Regions from separate parts of the Homo sapiens genome. Here all the other regions are linked to region 4. Evidence: promoter capture Hi-C in 16 types of primary human blood cells and fetal thymus (Javierre and others, 2016). All regions are on one chromosome and are shown on one strand. Each heading gives the region's core, a stretch centred on a gene start or on the middle of the fragment in contact. The rest is flanking DNA. Distances are from core to core; before and after follow the strand shown.

Region 1 (2,700 bases), core at 61-2,560, 780 kb before region 4:
GTGAAACAGAGTAGCCTATTTAATGCTGTACCGTAACAAATCGTGGCAAGCATGTCACTTAAATGAGATTTGGTATGAATCCGCAATTTGCTACTTTTCTGATATTCCTGTCTAAGGTTCCACTATGAATAGTCAAAAATACAGAGTGGTTCTTAATACCATTAACTGCAGGGCTGACATTCGCTGGCGTGCACTGTTGAAGAGCAGACATGCATCCATTCTCAATAACTGGGCTCTGATTGGCCAGTGCCCATGTCAATTTTCTCCAGAATCATCTCTGGCTGTACCCACGGGCATGTAAGGACAGGGTTGGAAAAGAGCCATTGGAGAAGAGAGCCCTGGACCTTGAGGTAGAAATAATTCTCCCCTGATTCCTCCAGGGAAAGAAGGAGGAAATTAATTAGAGCAGTGGCAACAGGAACCTAATTGATTTTTTTTTCCTGCTTTGTAGGTCTTTTCTGGGCAGGTGGGAACAAAGGACATTTAAAATCATTTAAAATCCCCGTGAAATTAAGTGCTGGAAACTCAAACACCTTCAGAGCCCATGAAGCAGGACTCAAGATAGAGAATGGAGAAAAAACTAAGGATCATATTTGTGACTGATTCTATGGCTGAAGTTACCCGTTTGTGACCCCTGGTAGATAGCCTCTAGTGGATTTAAATGTTGCTAAAAAAAACTTTATTGGATGTAAAATTCAAACTGTGATTATTTTTAAAATGCAACAAATGTGATTTAATCAAACTCAACTGCATAGTCAGTCCAACTGGTTCTCCTGAAAGTGGTTCTTAACTGGCCTGAAACTTCCCAATGTCATCAAAAAGGGTGACCATATATAAGTCCAGGCTTGTTTTGCTGACATGCTTTGGACGACATGAGAACGTAAATAACGGCCATTTTTTTCTTTAGCTATCCGAAAATAAAGCTAGTATGTGCTTACAAATAGCTGTGGAGAAGAAGAGAATTTATATATTCAAGCAATCTGTGATGAACATAGCATTATACCTCCAGAGAGCATTTACGAGTCACTAGAACTCCGCTATATAAACTATAAACCACTTACTACTATCTTTTCTTAAGTAAAAAGAAATAAAAATTTAGGGGACATTTTGTGACATATATTTTTTATATTACCAGTAAGTGCTCTAAAATTCAAAAAGCTTCTTAAAAATTTTGCTCTTGTAATAATGTTTGAAAATATTTCCACTTCTCTCTTACCCTCCATCATACACAGAGAAACATTTGCACATTTACTTCCCCACACCTGAAAAGTACTTAAATTTTATAGATAACATCTATTAGAACCCAGTAAAACCCTACAAATACTGTAGCTCTGTAGGAAATTCTGTTTTAAATATTCAAACATAGTATCCAACTTTACTATTTCTCAGCAAATATGTGGTTTATAGGCACAGAAGCAGCAAAAGCTAGCAGTTCACAACCCATAAGTTATAAACCTATGCGTAAGCTTACCATTTCCTTTAAACTTGATGTTAAGTTTTCTGGTGCATTTTCAATAACTTTTAAGGGTCAAATAATGGTGTGTACCTCATTTAAAATTAAATAATTATTTTTATTTTTCTTGATGTCTCTTCTGATCTTGAAAATAGCTGATAGAACAGCATTGTTTGATGTTGCTTATCAAATTTTATTTGCAATATTATAGACTTAGAATCATAGAAGGAGGAAAAAATTGCTAGATATATTATGTACCACACTCCATAACAAAATAAAGATGCAAAAATAAACCAAAGGAGGAGAATAAACCGACTAAGGATATATGACAGCTTCAGAATGAATTAAGGTTTGAAGCACACAAAAATCCAGACGCACAGCAGAAAGTGTTCAACTAGGTATTTAGAAACTTTGATTTCTTCAGTTATCTAAGTGACCTGTGGAAGTCATTTATGGTTACACTGCCTTTCAGTAAATCCTTTGCTGCATCAGCTTATTCTCATAACAGAGATCAAATTAATTTCTTAATCTGCAATATAAGAGTAACAGCTACTGGCTGGCCAAAATAATGGGTCAAGGTTACATGAGGCTGCTCAGGCTAGATATAAGAGAAGGAACCATTAAAATCCATTAGGTGACAGTTGGTCCCAAGCAACTGGCAGTAGCGAAAATGATAAAAGATATTGCTACAGAACAAGTGAAAACAATTTAAACACATTCTAGGTGGAACAGTCAAGAGGATCACATGAAATACAGGGAGAGTGGGCAAGGAGGATATGAGCCATTGTGGAAAACAGTATGAAGGTCTGTCAAGAAATTAAACACAGAATCACCAGGCTGAGTATGGTGGCTCACACCTGTAATCCCAGCAATTTGAGAGGCTGAGGTAGGCAGATCACCTGATGTCAGGAGTTTTGAGGACAGCCTGGCCAACATGGTGAAACCCCGTCTCTATCAAAAAATGCAAAAAGATTAGCTGGGCATGGTGGTGTGTGCCTGTAGTCCCAGCTACTTGGGAGGCTGAGGCAAGAGAATCACTTGAACCCAGGAGGCAGAGGTTGCAGTGAGCGGAGATCATGCCACTGCACTCCAGCCTGAGTGACAGAGTGAGACTCTGCTTAAAAAAAAAAAAAAACAAACAAAAAAACAAACAAAAAAACAAAAAAACAAAACAAAACAAAGATAGAATCACCAAATGATGTAGTAACTCTGCTTCTGCTTATGTATATTTAAAAAAAACCTAAAAG
Region 2 (2,700 bases), core at 119-2,618, 680 kb before region 4:
GCTTGAACCTAGGAGATGAAGGTTGTAGTGAGCAAAGAACATGTCACTGCACTCCAGCCTGGGCAACAGAGTGAGACTCCATCACAAAACAATAATAGTAATAATAATAATAATTGAATTGAAACTGTCTGCAGTAGCTATTAATAGTTTTTCATATTGCTTTTACCTGCAGAGGTAAAAGAATATATCATAAAATCTTTCAATTCATTTTTACCTCTTTGGTTCAACCATTGCATGGGGAAAACAAATAAACTTTCCCAGTAACATTTAAACTCCTTGAAAGGAGTGACTGCAAAACCTAACACATTTGGGATGCTTAACAAATTACATATTAATAATGTTAGCTCTTAAGATCAAATGATATAATCTGATATCTAGGCCTAAAGCTTTATTGTAGTCACAGCTTATTAATAAATGTGCCGCACGTCATACATACACTTGTTCATGTTAAAACTTTCTCTCTCCCAGGCAGCGAGAGTGAGTAATAGACCTACGATGAGGAGAGAGAATGTGAGAAATTGTTATTTTCATAACCTTGATGGCAACACAGCTCCCTAGATGCTCATTAGTTCTGCAGAGCACTGTTCCTTGTGTTTTGAGAAGACACATAGAGGTATCAGGGCTAGAAAGAACCTCCACAGACCTTAGGCACCCCCAAACCTCTCACAAAGCATTGTTAAGAGGATCTTCACAATACCACATATTTGCTGTTCCTAGCCCTAGGTGATTTTAGGTAGAATTTTCAGGATTCCCAGGCCCTAGGTGATTTTGGGCAGTAGAACTTTCAGGATAAAGGGAACACAACTAGAGTGGGGTGGTTAAGATTATGGCTTGACAATTCCTATTAGCCTGGGTTTTAATTCTGGCCTCAGCCCCTTCCTTAACATGTATACTTCAGAATTTAAAGTCTCAGGGCTACAATTTCATTTTTCATAAAATGAGAAAAATTATATCATCTACCACATAAAGTCATTGTGGTGATTAAATAAGCTAATACAGGTAACATGATTAGGTAGTACTTAACAGCTAGTAAGCACCAAATGATTAAAAACATAGTGGTTATTAAGTCTCCTCATTTGCCTTTACCCTGGGATTCTAAGCCATTGTAGGATGGTTATAAGGTCAGAAAAATTGGTACCTATGTAATTTCAATGCCAACGAGGACAAATTAGATATTCTAGCCTGGATCAAAATCGAGATAACAAAATATATGGAATCTACAGCTCAGCATCTGGCACAGATTGAGCAAAAATTTCCAGGAATGATAATTTCCACAGATTTCACCAGCATGTTTGAATATGGAAATGAGCCTCAGGTGACCTCTTTAGGTGGACTGCCTTTGGAGAAATATTTCCAGGTTGCTTTGAGGAGCTTGTCCGACCCCATGCTTTGATAAATTACTTAGAATTTAACCATCATAATTTTATGCCCATAATGAGCAGATTAGAGGGAGAATAAAAGATGTAAGCACATTTTAAATGCAAATATTATGCTGCTCGTTGTTATTCACAAGGTATACATTATACACAGTTACTGAAGTTCCCTTGAACAAAGAAAACAGCAAAATGCCAAGGCATTTTTGAAAAAGTGTTTTATTCATGACTCTGAAAGGTAGCTGAAGCCAGTTGAGGGAGGACTATACCCTCCCTCTATTTTAATGATCTTAATTTTGTTAATGGAATGTTAGTAGAAAGAGTTTGGGAGCCATGTGGAGCTGATTGTGTTGTTCAGTATTGATGTTGCCTGCAAATTAAATGTACCTAAGTAGCCACCTGTTTATGCTTATGATTATGTAAAGCCCCATATGTTTCTCTCTCTACACATGGGAGGTAAATATTGAAGAAATTATTCTGGTGTGAAGGGTGAAAACAGCAGCAATTCTTCTATAACTGTCAACATATGCTGTGGTGTTTCCTTGTAACATTGTGCTTTGTCTGACATATTTGCTGATTTTTATCATGCAGTGTTCAAAAAAATCTGTTACCCATGGTTATACAAAACAATTAAAAATCAGTTTACATTAAATTCAAATTAGAAAGAGCTATAATTTCCCAATGTAACCATAAGTATTAAATGAATGTCAGGGCTTAGGATTTAAATAGATTTTGATTTGCACAATAAAGAAAACTGAATTTTTGTTTTTCTAAATTCACCAGTATATAAAAAGGAGCATTTTCTCTCTAAACACATTCTTTTGGTTCCATATTACTAGGCAATAAAACTAACTTCAACAGCATGAATTTGAAAATCCTGCCTAAAATCAGCACTGGGCTCATGAACTGGCTAACCCACAACTCTCCCAGTGGATTTGACTTGGACAGGAGCTTACTGGCCCCTGACGGTCCTCTCTGGAAGCTTTGACCTGGTACCTGGTCAGCACGAACACCTGAACAGCTCTGAGATGAATTTCTTCAGAGCACTGGGGGGTCTCGTGCAAGTAACTCCTATGGAACTGCCTCAAAACTATTCAGAGATTGACCCAGACAGTCACTTCCAGGAAAGAGCACAGCATTTGGAGCTGCTATTGTTGATCACTTTAGACACTGAAGATAAACAAATTGGGGTTTTCCAAGGTTTGTGTTTGATTAAGAGGAGTTTAAATGCTGGCTGTCTGGCAGCCCTGGATATGGCCGTCCCTGACCTTCCAATATAAAGTATACACAAAAAGACACAGAAAATGATAGAAAACGATGAAAACTT
Region 3 (2,776 bases), core at 43-2,542, 760 kb before region 4:
TTCACCCGTGCATACATAAATGGCAGATAGCTATAGACGTAGACTATATTTACATATATATATATGTAAGTGAAAGTGATACATGTCACACATGTCACTTTTTTTTTTTTCTTTTTTGAGACGGAGTCTCGCTTTGTCGCCCAGGCTGGAGTGCAGTGGCGCTATCTCGGCTCACTGCAAGCTCTGCCTCCCGGGTTCACGCCATTCTCCTGCCTCAGCCTCCCGATTAGCTGGGACTACAGGCGCCCGCCACCACGCCCGGCTAGATTTTCGTATTTTTTAGTAGAGACGGGGTTTCACCTTGTTAGCCAGGATGGTCTCGATCTCCTGACCTCGTGATTGGCCCGCCTCGGCCTCCCAAAGTGCTGGGATTACAGGCATGAACCACCATGCCCGGCCCATATATCACATTTTATTGGCCAAGTCAAGTCATATAGACAAGTCTAATATCAGTATAGCTAAGAATATTATCTTCAGGAATTACCTGGTAGAGAGCGATCAGGTAATAAAGGGCAGTACATATTTAGACAATAATTATTCTCTATAGATTGATAGGTACATACATACATAAATATAGATAGATAAATTATATTCACATACGAATATGTATATATACACACACCCACACACATAGATATATGTTATATACAAATACACATATATGTATATAACAATATATATTTATATACTTATACATGTTCATAACAAAAGAGATTTGAACTGGTTAAAAATTATACATAAAATTAACAGATTACAAAAATAAAGAATTAAGAATAGAATAAAAATAAGATGTAATTTAAAAGGAGGGAGTATACAAATATCAAATCATAAGATGTTTTATGGTTGATAGAGTTGGACTGTAAATTGGGTTCTGAACTTCCTAGTATCCCAAAAGAGGAAATACATAATCAATTTCTACACTTAAACCCACAAACGGATCAATTTCTTAGAGAAACATGGCTTAACTGGAAGAATTTATGAAAATACCTTGTAATAATGAAAAACCCATTCCTTAACAATTACCTTATAATAAATATATATTATATATATAACATATATAATATATATTATAAATATTTAATACTACAGTAAAAGAATAGCCCTAATGCCTCATAGGTGCCCAATACATATTTCTTGAATGAAATATGTCTTGAATGGAAAAAGAAAGGCAGAAATGTCAAATTCCCTATAGCAGAAAGATAAAAAAGTGACTTAATGTAAGCTAAAGGTGTAACATTAAAGTTGAAAAAAGTAAAAGATCTTTCACAAGAAGGCAACTATATAAATATGTGTATGCATATCAAGATTTCTAATTGTGTGATTTAATACAAAAATGTTTAGAGTATGTAGAAGAATAAACGAACTACAGGTGATACAGGTAATCACATGAAAGAAAGAAAGAATTATTGGATCATTTTGTGAAAAAGAAACTGTTTCTTTGTTGGGCAAGTAACACAATCAGAATTATAATAAAAGTTTACAAGACTTTTGAGTCCAAAATTGTGTAATTTAAGCCAGTTACTTAGGTAATTGGTGCAGTATTATGCACAATTTATGAACTTACAAAATAGTTAACCAGCAGAACTCAATGCTAGACATGTCAAGAAGTCTGGAAAGAATTATATTACAAGACAGTCATATTAGATATTCTATTTTGAAATGGCTGTGTATTACATACAGAAATTGGTTGTGTTTTCAGAACTCAAGAAGAGTACCTTTATTTTAATTAGTAAAGAAGAGGAGTTTGCTATTTAAGCATAAATTTATACAGGGGAATGAAGTAATACTTTTAAATAAAGATGCTTGATTATAAGAAAATTGCATATACTAAACTTTTAGAACACAGCACAATGCTCTCAAAAATGTTAAGCAAATTAATCAATGAATAACACTTATAGGTAAATTTTGAGGTTTGCTCAGTCCATATTCACAAATATGTAGGCTGATGACACCAAAATATACATCTCTGACTGTAACCTCTTCCCTAATCACTGGACTCATATAAATTGAATATATTCAACTACCCTCCAAGGGGTGAAGTTGGGTGTTCAAAGGGTATGAATGTTTAATTTCAAATTTAATATTTCCAAAACTTAATTATTCACTTCTCCTCAAACATATTTCCACACCAGTCTTCCTCATCGCAGTAAGTGGAAAATTTGTTCTCCCAGCTGCACATGTTAATAACCTTAGAGTCAACCTTAACACTTTATCTCACATATATTCATCATTGAATTACGTTGACTCTGTCTTCAAACACATCCAGCATGTAACCACATCTCATCACATCTATCGCTACATCCCTAGTCCAAGTCACCACTCCCTCTTCACAGGATTATTTAAAAGGTTTTTCGTATGTTGTTTATTTTCCTTTTCTTCTTTCTTCCTTCTTTCCTTCCTTCCTTCCCTCCTTTCTTTCCCTCCTTTCCTCATTCCTTCCCTCCTTCCCTCCCTCCCTCCCTCCCTCCCTCCCTCCTTCCTTCCTTCCTTCCTTCCTCTCTCTCTCTCTTTCTTTCTCTTGATCCCTTTATAATCTCTTGTTCATAGGGTAACCAAAGGGATCATTCTGAAATGTAAATTAGATTATGTAGCTTCCCAACTGAAAACCCTATGATTTTTACAGTGTCAAGTCTTATGTCTAAGTTTCTCATTCATTTTGAGTCAATATTGATGTATAGTGTAAGCTAAGAATCGAATCTCTTTTTTTTTTTTTGCATGTGGATTTCTAGTTTTCTCAACACTATTTGTTGAACAGATAATTCTTCCTTATTATGTA
Region 4 (2,700 bases), core at 193-2,692:
AGAAAAGTTGTCAGGACTGGCGGGAGGTAGACAAGTGCTCGGGAGCCCGCTCCCCAGCGTCCACCTGGTGAAACTTCAGAGCCCCCAGAGGAGAGAACGAAAGAAGCAACCAACCTACACGAAGGATAACAAAACTGGAGGGGAACAGAGGGCGGGACCGGGAGAGCCAGGGTTCACGGACTTCTCTGAGCGGCTTGACCGAGAACCCCCAGGGCTACAGCGAGACGCTCCACTTGTCTCCTTTTGGGTTCTCCGGCAGAAGGCAGACATTTACAGTCCGCTTCCAGCCCCAGGCCGGATCCGGGGAGCGCGGGGCCAGAGCCCCAGGCCGGATCCGGGGAGCGCGGGGCCAGCCTGGCGGTGGTTTTGCCCGAGGAGCGGGCTCCCACGCGCGAGTCAGGCTTCCTCCACCAGGCGCCCAGACCTCGATGCCCATGAACGCTCAGAGTGGGTCCTTAGAACCGCATTTCAACACATCTTACAGGGCTCCGCCAACACACACACAGAACATGCTCCAAGCAGTGCCCGAGCGCACAGGGCAAGCCCGGGAGCAACCCAGAGCTGGGGGAGGAGAAAAGGGGACTCCGGGAGGGACGGGGAAGTAGTTAGACAATAGTCAGGGGAGGTTATTCCCGGGACAAAAAGCACCTGGCAAAGCGCGCCGAGGTCAGTCCCTTCGAATCTCCACATTTCTGACAATGGCTTCCCAGGGAATTTGTTTAAACACCCAAGTGGCAGACAGCAACAAACCCGCACCACAAGCAACAGAGTGCCGTCACGGGAGTCGTAACTACTTTTTCTTTCTCTCTTCCCCACTAGCCCGGCGCAGGCCACGCGAGACGCCGAAGCCAGCAGGTCCCCACACTCTCCGGCTAGACCGTGCCAGCCTGAGCCCCGAGCAAGCTTCGGAGAGGAACAATGGGTGCCCCGCGTCCCACCTGGCACGAACTCTGGGGACAGCCCTCCCTCTACCCTGTGTTCCCCACCCCCGGACAGAGAGAGCTCCCCACGATCCTTGTCCCCAGCCCTAGCGGGGACCTGGCTCACCCCTCGTGAGCCCAGGACTCCAGGCGTTCGTCGGGGACGCCCCCCGGCCACTCACCTGCGGAGAACTGGCCTTGGGCCGATCCCAGGAGAGGCCAAGGAGAGAGGAGCAAGAGCGCCACAAAAGCAGGCAGCGCCGCCGCCGCAGTCGTATCCATGCCGAGTTTGGGAGAAGTTTCAAGCAGCTTTGCAAAGAGCTGCCGGGGGGATCGCCGCGAAATCCACGACGGAGGAGCGGGCCGGGCCTCGCGGGGTGAGGACGGTGAGAGGACAGCCGCCCGCCCGCCCTTTTTCCTTCTTCGCGGTCGCCAAACTACCTCAGGGGCGAAAGCGTCGCCAGCGTCGCCGGCCGGCCGCGGCGGCAGCTCTCCATGCTCGGCGGAGGCTGCTCCTGTTAGTCAAGAGTTACTTTGCTCGGGGAGGGACGGGGGCGGAGCCGGGGGTGACGTCGCCCCGCGGGCTCCGGGCGCTTCTGAGGAATGCGGGCTCGGGCGCGGCGCCGCCACCGCCTCCTGCCGGAGAGACGCGCGCCAGCCCCGGCCGCGCGCCCCGCGCCGCCTTTGTTCGCAGCCTGGGCCCCGCCGCCAGCCGCTGCTCGGAGGGAGCGAGCGAGAAAGGGGAGCCGGCGCAGCTCGCTGCCCTGTTCCAGAACTCAGAATTTGAGAGGCGAGAGTTCGGTAAGCCGTGCGACCAGACGACCGAGGACGCGCGCAGAGAAACCCCCGCCGTCCGAGGAGAGGCGTCCTGGGGTTCCGTCCCAAGGTGGAGGTCCCCCCGAGCGGTTGCTGATTGAAAGGGGAGTGTGGAAGCGCCCTGAGGAAACACCCGCCTGCCTTGAAAACTCCCCGTTCCTTATTCTTGTAATAAGGAATAAGACACCCCACCCCCATCGAAAACTTGTCCCTTATTCATAGAATAAATAAAACTTGAACCAGAATAAACGATCAGTAACTTTCCAGCGTGAACAGCTGGCGTGTCTCCTTTCTGGTTTATTTGTCATTGGCCAAGTATTTGGATTTACTCTGCTTCACTGACTTTGCTTGTTGCTCTGAAACCCTCCGGCCCCTTTCCAGTTCTCACCTAAGAACTGCATCAGGGCTTATTATCCCTTCCTTGCACCTAGGTCTGGTGTGTGTGTGGTTTTGTTTTTTTTAATATCTAGTAGGTAGTTAAGACATAAGTATTTAACAAAAGGACTTTTACACTGACCATGAAAACAGCTTCTTCGGAATGATTCATCTGGCAGAAAATAATGCTATATTATGACAGTAAAATATTTCACAGTTAACTACTTCAGCAGCTTGAAGTGGTTTCGCCATATGCCACCCTGCCTTACTTCTGTGGTAAGACTGTATGGTGCATACTTTATTCATTTTTGTAAAATGTCACAAAAAATAGGTATGGTCACAATTGAATAACATAATAACTTTGATTCAGAATTTTTATGTGTTATGTACAATTGCTAAAACAATAGTCTGTTGATTGACATCTCTCAGTTTCTCAGACATCTTAGCCTTTGTAAATCAAGACAATGTGAAATTCATTTTAATATAACATTCACATAATTTACCAAGCCACATATTCTTTTAATCAAATATATGCTATTAATGACCAGACTTATGACAGAGCCTGTGGAAACAAAAATGTAATAAATAT
Region 5 (2,700 bases), core at 91-2,590, 730 kb before region 4:
TTTATTATTAAAAGTTTGAATATTTTATAAAACATTAATGACTTTGATAGCTCTAGGTATTCAATAAGATATTTTGCACTATTTGCACCCTGGGACAATCCTCTCAAAAAGTGAAATTTTATAAACCACATGGATAAAAGTACATAAATAAATGTGGCATTCTTATTTTTCTCAGGTAACAGAAAGCAAAATTACCCTGTTCTAGCCTACATATTTGAACAGTAAGTAGAATCATAATATCTTCAACAGCTTGGCCATCTGTTATTGTTCCAAAAAGCTTCAGGGAATAGTCTGTGTAATGGAATGTAAAACATTATCAACTGCTATGGTCTGAAACGTTGTGAAATAGAATCTGTAAAACTTTGTAGCCAGATAAACCAATTCAGAAAAATAAAAAGTGAGCATAGAACCAAAATTTGGGAAAAATAAAAGGTAGGTTTGTTTATATCTAAACTTAAGTATTTAAAATGAATATACTGATACTGACAGCCAGTGTTGGTTGAGTATTCATTAGGTACCAAGTACTATTCTAAGTGGTTTTCTTGAATGAGCTTTCTTAAGCCTCACAACAATTCTCTAGGGCATGTTACTATGCTTGTTTTATGAACTAGAAAATTGAGAAAAAGGGAGATTAAATAATTTGCCCAAGACCAACAGTTAGAAATGGCAGGCTAAGGACTTCTGAAAATCTATTTCAGCATAAAGGCAATGACCACTAGCAAAATTTGTCAGAATCAACTTTTGCAGAACTCTAGAAATTAACGAAAAAGAAATCTTTTTTTTAAGAAAAGTGACTAAATCTTGATAAGAATGTGAGCTTTGTGACGTTTTGAATTGTCCTATAGCAATTCTTCTCAGCTGCATGACAGACTTGAAAACCAGCAGCCTTGCAATCACAGTAGCTGTGAGAAAAAGCAACTTTGCAACCACCAAAGAGGGGGACACTGGGTTTGGAGCTCCTAAAAAAACTCGATTCCAAGAGCATTGCCACTATGTTAGCTGTTAGGAATCTCCCTGAAAAAGCACCCTTTCTAGGATTTGTCTTTACTCAAGCTGACTCCCTACTGTCCCCAGGAAAAGCCATATCAAAGAATCAGCAGCAATTATTAACCATTGCATCTTCCAGAGGCTGTGATGCTAATTGTGGCAAACAGGAAGCAAGATATAGGGTTTTTTTTAATATATTCTAAATTTTCCCAACTTTCCTGTTTATCTTTGTCTCTTTCCTGCACTCTAGCATGCACATGTGTGCACGCACACACACACACACACACAAACACATGCACACATCACCTTCTTCCTTTAGCTGGAAAACTTGCATAGATCTACTCATGCACATAAAAGGCCTCAGATATCACTAGTCCACTAGGTCCGCCAAGATGAATCTAGTCTGCTCCTAGCTGACACTCTGCTGCACCCATGTCACCATGTTCTTTGCATGGCATCACCTTATCTTGATATGTTTCAAAGAAATTCAAACCTACCACTGGCACCAGGGAAATGCTTTTATCTCTCTATCTCAACTGTCCTGAAAGTATGTGTGTGTAAAGAACTCCATACTGTAAACATATTATTACTGGGATCTGTTTTTTGAATGTATCATAGAGAACACATGATATATACAATATCTTGATAAACGATACCATAAAATGATTCTCGTTTCTCATCATTACAAACATCAGCATGGCATGAGGTTAATAAAGGAATGACATCTGTATTATCTAAAATTAAGTCTACTAACTATATTTATAAGCTAAAAAGTCAGCCTGCCACAGTGATAGGTAGATAGATAGATAGATAGATAGATAGATAGATAGAGATAGACAGATATAGATAGATAGATAGATAGATAGATAGATATAGATAGATAGATAGATAGATAGATAGATAGATAGATAAATAGATGCTCTTCTGGTAATAAACACAAAGTGTCTAGATTAGAAAACAGATAGTTGAATATTCACAGAGCATCTTAGCACTGAGAAGGCTATGAGAGACTAATGTTATCCTGCACAGACAAGAGTTGAGTATACCACCATGGACTCACAAACTATGACACTTGGAGTTTGGCTGGCACATTGACCCATCCTTTCCTCAGGTGAGGGAGAGTCTTTTATTTTGCGATGTTAGCAAATGTTTACAGGGGAGACGTCTCTAAACCTCTCTGAAGCAACCTACTATCTCTATCTTCCAAGATACATTTGCTATTCAACCCTACTTTAACCAAGTTTGCCAGTGGTCTTTCCTCAAAAAGATTGGACTGTGTGGTAATCTGAAAATATTTCATGGAGAATTGCCTCTCAATAATCAAATCCAGGGATTGACACCAACCTAGTGACTTTCCCTGATTTACTCTACAGCTTTTGGTATTGAATAATGAAAGGTTGAGGGATGAATACAAAGGAAGCTTCTTATCCCACAGGAAAAAATTAAAATGCTTTATTTGCCAATATTGACATTTTCATTAAACAAATGAATGACATTCATAATTATTACCTTAATTAAAACTATCAGAACTTTTGAGAGTATTCATTTACGGACAGTAAGAAGGTACTCAATTGTATTTTCAGATTATAGTACTCTACTTGAAAATAAGTTATTTTAACATTTTAGCCCCATATATTTTCTTGAAAAGGCACAACAAAAATGATCACATCAGCAGAGATTATTTCTTTCATCATTAAAGAGGCAATACATTAT
Region 6 (2,700 bases), core at 49-2,548, 710 kb before region 4:
GCACTCCAGCCTAGGCAACAGAGTGAGAATTCATTAAAAAAAAAAAAGCTAAAATTGTATCTCACAGTCAAAAAAGCTAAAATTGTATCTCACAGTCAAAAAAGCTAAAATTGTATCTCACAGTCAAAATTTGTCAATTTTTTAAAGGAAGTTCAAAAGTTTCCTTTATTTCTCTTATTTTCAGATTCAAAAACCCAATATTTAAATATGTCCGTATTCTATCTTCATTGTGTTGGGTCTTTGAAAAACTCTCTAACAGTAATCTTCCCTATTCAGAGGGAAATCAGTACTACAGCTTCTATATTACACGAAAAGGACCTACCATGAGTAGAAAGGTGTGAGTGTTCAGAAGCTCAGAGTCAGCTACAAATTCAAACACTCTTAATGTATTTATACTACATCAGGTTAACAAAAACAAAAACAAGTCACATTGTTTGTGACCAAACCCTATTGATAACAAACAAGTGGGTATAATACTACTCTCTAATGATCTAGATTTAGCCCAGTAACGTGGATTTCTCTAACACATTTCAGCCACTGTAACTGTCAAACCAGATCAGAAGTGACAATTTAGCACCAGCAGCAGCTGCTGAAGTGTTCTCTGTGCACTCCCCAGGAACCATTGCTTTCCTTCTGCCTTTTTCAGCCCTCACTCTAATTCTGGTGCAGGATTTTTTTCTGCTCATTTCACAGTACCTTGCCATTACTGCCTCCCTTGCTCTTTGCCTTAATGTCTCCTATGGGTGTTCTTGTCCGACAGAAATCTAGAAACTCAGGCAGCAAAGTGGACACTTGGGCATTAAATGGCCAAACAGAGTTAGTGAAATACAAGATTTCTGGTCCCAGCTGCAGTCTCTGAAGACATGGAATATCTCATCTTTCAACCAAAGGTTTGTTTTCTGTCTTGTTATAGACCCTTTCATCAGAATACAGAAGTTGCATTTCTCCTGTGTGGCACTCAGGAGTCGTAGCTATATATATCCACGACAGGCAAAAACCCCAGTGAGTATATGTTCTTCTGAACTATCTGAAACCACTTCTAACATACAAACCAACCTTCAAGGAAGGAGAATCTACCTGACAACATTTCTATTTAGAACACAATTTCAGGCCCAGCTTCATTTATTTAGTCACTTTATAATATTGTTTCCATCAGATTAAAATTCAGATGCACAGATCCTAAAGACATTATTTCTGCATTATGTCATAAACCTAAAGAAAATTTTGAGGATTCCCCTGGCCTATTCCCACTCCTTTGTTTAGATTCCATACATTATCCTTATAAACAGTTAACTAACACATTTAAAGAACAACTATAATATTATTTCACATAAAATCTCATAGGTCTTGAAGTAGGCTATAATCCTGTTGGTAACCATACCCCCACTCGTGTCCCTGCCCAAACTGAAATTATAATTCTAAAGTTTCTACACCAATCTATTTTTTTTTCTTTTTAGGTATTGCTAAAGCTGGAGAACAGTTGCCAATCTTACCTTGGAAAACAATTCTTTCTATTTCTCCTAGTTCCTGTAACCTGTCCTCATATATTCTTAATTTCCAAACATTTTAGATGAGCTTGTAGTGTTCATAACCAACCGCAGATACCTGCTATAGGTTAATTTGGCTAATGCAGGGTGAATTTTAGATTCTTACTCTTAGATTGCCCATACATCTGTCTGTTACTTAATGCAAGAAATGATTTAGTAAAGTTAATGATCCATTGGGAAGGCAAAAGTAAATTCATATAATGAAGCATCTAGGACTCTTCTCTGTGCATGTAAAACCACATTTTAATGAGCTAAATGAGTTTGAATATTTAAACTCTGAATAACTCTTACTATTTGTTATCCAAATTTAAAGCAATATTCCATATATAATCCATAATCTTAGAGGCTGTTTTTTAATGGCTGATTCCTACCTATGAAGTATAAAAAATGTTCTTCAAAAGCACACATGATAGAAGAGACTTCATGTAAATATCAAAAGAAACATAAAAGGAATATATGAAAGGATGACTTTGTGAGAATAAGAAATATTTGCAAAATTTTTGGAGTAGATTATGAAGAAACTGAAAGAGCTTCTGTTTACATTCTATAAACAATGTATTAAGCAGATTCCTGCCTTCATGGTAAAAAATAATCGCTGAAAATAAGGAGGTTAGTAGGTCTAAATACAGGTGAATTGTAGCATCCTCTGACATTTTAAAGTGATTTCAGAGAAAATATAATGCTTTATCTATCACACTAGAATTAAAGGAACTATTCATAAACAAAGAACTGTAGACTCTTCTCAACTGTCTGATAAATTCTCAACCAAAGCAGGGATTCCCTGACAATATCACTGACATGATTTCCTATCTTCTACTATAAACATTTTGGGGAGAAGAAACCTGTTCCAACATATTACACCAAATTTGTCCTCCCTTTAACTTTCACCCAGTGTTGAAGATGTCATAATGGAATATAAGTCTGCACTCTGCCACAAAGCAACTATTTAAATGTATAAAATAACTAATATCATCTAGTATCAAGTCTTCCAATTTTAGATTATCACTCAATGTCTTCAACTATTCCTCAAATGAAAATGGCTCCAGAACCTCTTAACATCTTTAACAGCTCCTTACAAACTCCAGTTAAAAGTCTCTAGAGTGAGACTCAGAATTGAACACCAAGACTCCATGTGGGGTCTGACCAGTAAAAA
Region 7 (2,700 bases), core at 126-2,625, 810 kb before region 4:
CACAATTTGTCACAAGGGAGATGCAACAGTGGGATATACCTATGGGACTCATTTGTTGTATCATAGGGTACACAATTTGGAACCTGCTGGCCTCTTGGATTTGGAACAAATTTTTGAAGGTTCAGCTGAGGGATCAACACAGTAGTATAATCCATGCTCCAGGGTACCCTTAGGATCAGGCTGGAAAGATTAGGTTGGAGTTCTTATGAAACCATGTATTTATCTAGATCCTTCTCCTATCCTGCTGACTTCTTCCACTTCCATACAGATTTCTCCTAAGAACACTCCAATAAACCACTGAACGAGTATCTTCCCCCTTAACCTGTGCTTCTAGGGAACCTGAGCTAAGATAACAAGGACTAGATGAGTATTTGTCATGGCACATAAGAGTGGAAGTGGGAAAGAAAGAAAACTCAAAGAAGAAAAGATGCAAGACTCCAAAACTAAAAAACCTTGATGTAATATTTTATATATAATTTAGAACATATATATATTATAAAATAAAAACACATAAATGCATTGAGGACTTACTTTTTCTCAGACAAAGCTCCAAGCACTTTACATCTATACATTCATCAAATTATCACAACAACTCTACAATGTAGAGTCTATTTTAGTCCCTATTTTACATATATGTAGGAATTTGAAGCAGAAGGAGGCTCACAAACTTATCCAAGGCAACCCAGTAAACAGGGAGTCAGTATTCAGACCTGGGCAGTCTGGCTTGAGTTCTCATATTCCTAACTTTAATCAGTTCATTCAGCAAACACATATTGAGTGCCAGATATATGCCAGACACTATTCTAAGTGTCTGGGTGTAGTGCAGAAACCAATAAGAAATCCTGCCTTCAGGGGGTTTACAGTCTAGTGTAAAGGAGACAGAAAAGAAACAAGACATGTAAAAGATATAGCTTGTTAGATAGAATAAACTATTATGGAGAAAATTAAGGCAGGGAAGGAGATAGAAAGACCAATAAGAGTTGAGGTTACAGTTTGAGATAGGGTGGCCAGAGCAAGGCACATTGAGAAGGTAATATGTGGATAAAGCCTAAAGGAAGTAAGGGAGTGACCTGTGTGGAGAGGAGAGCAAAAAGTGTTCCAGGCAGGGAGAACAGCAAATGCAAAGGCCTCAGGGTAGGAATAGCCCTGGCATGGTTGATGAATAATGGTGTATTAGTCCATTCTTACACTGCTAATAAAGGTATACCCAAGACTGGGTAATTTATAAAGGAAATAGGTTTAATTGACTCACAGTTCAGCATGGCTGGGGAGGCCTCAGGAAATTTATAATCATGGCAGAAGGGGAAGCAAACACGTCCTTCTTCACATGGTGGCAGCAAGAAGTGCCAAGCAAAAGTGGAAAAAGCCTTTATAAAAGCCATCAGATCTCATGAGAACTCACTCACTATCAGGGGAACAGCATGGGGGAAACTGTCCCCATGACTCAATTACCTCCCACCAGGTCCCTCCCATGACACATGGGGATTATGGGAACTACAATTCAAGACGAGATTTAGATGGGGACACATCCAAACCATATCAAATGGGAAGGTCAGCATGACTTGAGCAAAACGAATAGGAAGAGTACAGAGAGAGAATGGGAATGTATTGTGCACACCTTTCTAGATCATTTTAGGAATTTTGGCTTTTACTCTGAATGAGGTAGGACATGACTGTGGTGTGTAATAATAGCACATATTTTAATGAGATCATTCTGGTTCTCACAATCAGAATAGATTGATAGGTAGCAAGGGCAGGAACAGGAAGAATTGTTACAGGGTTTTTGCAATAATCCAACAGAGATGACTGAAGTTTGGACCACAGCAGTAGAAGTAGAAGCAGTCAGAAGTGTTATAGTTGTGGAAATATTTTCATGGTAAAATCAAAAGAATATTTTTATTCTATTGGATTTCATTTTTAGTAGTCCAGCCTACCGGGGTTATAATTAGATCCTAATTCTGACTCTCCCCAGCGTTTTACATGTTATCATCTTCCTTTTAGAGGCAACTTGAACCAAGAACCTTTGGTTAAACACCTAAAAGTCTCATTATATGTTGACTCTAATCTTAAAGAGTTTTTCTATTAAAATCCTGGATGTAAGAGTTGAGCTAGCCCATCTCAACAATCACATTTTCCTCTTTCCATTTCTCACTCCTTTCTGACAGCCTTTTCCAAAACTGCTTGACTGATTCAATTAGGAAGAGGCCAATATTAATAATTGGTAGTTTTGGCACCTATCTATGCAGCTTGGCCATGCTGTGAAATTTGGTCATTATGACTGAGCTCAGCACTGTAAGTCCATAGGGGATGGAGAGGGCAGGGAGGACAATCTCCCTCCTCATGGCTTTTTTAGCACAAGCAGCCCCCTCCTTAGTGAACAATTTATTTCAATTCTAGTTAAAGAATATTTTAACTTAATCGTTACAGGAAGATAGTTATTCTAGAGTTAAACATAGAAGAGAACACATACAAATAAAAATTAGGAAGTTTATTTTCAACCTTCCCAAATCTCCAATAGGTGAGCATGAAGTTTATTACACTTTTCAATATCAAGACAACTGGAAACACAGTATGTGAAAGGACTTATATTTAGAAATGTTATATATGATTTCTATTAGAAAGCCCTTGATAATTTACAACCAAAGTAAGATATGCATTCTCTTAATTTTCTAATCAAAGAATGGTAGTTACTAAAAGTAC

The links. Contacts are between HindIII fragments. The CHiCAGO score rates a contact against its expected background, and 5 or more counts as called.
Region 1: a contact is called between a fragment that was not itself captured here and the fragment with the promoter of PTPRK in region 4, in 10 of 17 cell types (fetal thymus, naive CD4 T cells, naive CD8 T cells and 7 more). The highest score is 21.0, in fetal thymus.
Region 2: a contact is called between a fragment that was not itself captured here and the fragment with the promoter of PTPRK in region 4, in 5 of 17 cell types (fetal thymus, naive CD8 T cells, non-activated CD4 T cells and 2 more). The highest score is 9.1, in fetal thymus.
Region 3: a fragment that was not itself captured here is called in contact with the fragment with the promoter of PTPRK in region 4 in 4 of 17 cell types (fetal thymus, naive CD4 T cells, naive CD8 T cells and 1 more); the score reaches 7.6 in fetal thymus.
Region 5: a contact is called between a fragment that was not itself captured here and the fragment with the promoter of PTPRK in region 4, in 7 of 17 cell types (fetal thymus, naive CD8 T cells, total CD8 T cells and 4 more). The highest score is 15.1, in fetal thymus.
Region 6: a contact is called between a fragment that was not itself captured here and the fragment with the promoter of PTPRK in region 4, in 1 of 17 cell types (fetal thymus). The highest score is 10.1, in fetal thymus.
Region 7: a contact is called between a fragment that was not itself captured here and the fragment with the promoter of PTPRK in region 4, in 7 of 17 cell types (fetal thymus, naive CD8 T cells, total CD4 T cells and 4 more). The highest score is 10.8, in fetal thymus.

Annotation. Positions count from the first base shown.
Region 1 is chr6:127,739,741-127,742,440 of GRCh38, forward strand. The region is part of intron 4 of THEMIS (thymocyte selection associated); the gene reads right to left. Among named protein-coding and RNA genes, the nearest start is that of LINC02536, 77 kb to the left of the region's middle. The HindIII fragment of the contact is 308 bases long and covers 1,157-1,464 here.
Region 2 is chr6:127,834,499-127,837,198 of GRCh38, forward strand. The region is part of intron 2 of THEMIS (thymocyte selection associated); the gene reads right to left. Among named protein-coding and RNA genes, the nearest start is that of THEMIS, 65 kb to the right of the region's middle. The HindIII fragment of the contact is 1,969 bases long and covers 385-2,353 here.
Region 3 is chr6:127,757,384-127,760,159 of GRCh38, forward strand. The region is part of intron 4 of THEMIS (thymocyte selection associated); the gene reads right to left. Among named protein-coding and RNA genes, the nearest start is that of LINC02536, 95 kb to the left of the region's middle. The HindIII fragment of the contact is 4,314 bases long and covers 1-2,776 here.
Region 4 is chr6:128,519,157-128,521,856 of GRCh38, forward strand. It overlaps PTPRK (protein tyrosine phosphatase receptor type K), which reads right to left and starts at 1,443. Exons shown (of 30, transcript NM_002844.4): 1 at 1,103-1,443. The coding sequence starts at 1,202. RefSeq lists enhancers at 617-1,210, 1,211-1,805. The HindIII fragment of the contact is 3,706 bases long and covers 902-2,700 here.
Region 5 is chr6:127,786,022-127,788,721 of GRCh38, forward strand. All of the region lies in intron 4 of THEMIS (thymocyte selection associated), which reads right to left. Among named protein-coding and RNA genes, the nearest start is that of THEMIS, 110 kb to the right of the region's middle. The HindIII fragment of the contact is 2,130 bases long and covers 276-2,405 here.
Region 6 is chr6:127,807,323-127,810,022 of GRCh38, forward strand. All of the region lies in intron 4 of THEMIS (thymocyte selection associated), which reads right to left. Among named protein-coding and RNA genes, the nearest start is that of THEMIS, 92 kb to the right of the region's middle. The HindIII fragment of the contact is 4,715 bases long and covers 1-2,700 here.
Region 7 is chr6:127,705,727-127,708,426 of GRCh38, forward strand. It overlaps THEMIS (thymocyte selection associated), which reads right to left. Exons shown (of 6, transcript NM_001010923.3): 6 at 2,474-2,700. Among named protein-coding and RNA genes, the nearest start is that of LINC02536, 43 kb to the left of the region's middle. The HindIII fragment of the contact is 3,320 bases long and covers 1-2,700 here.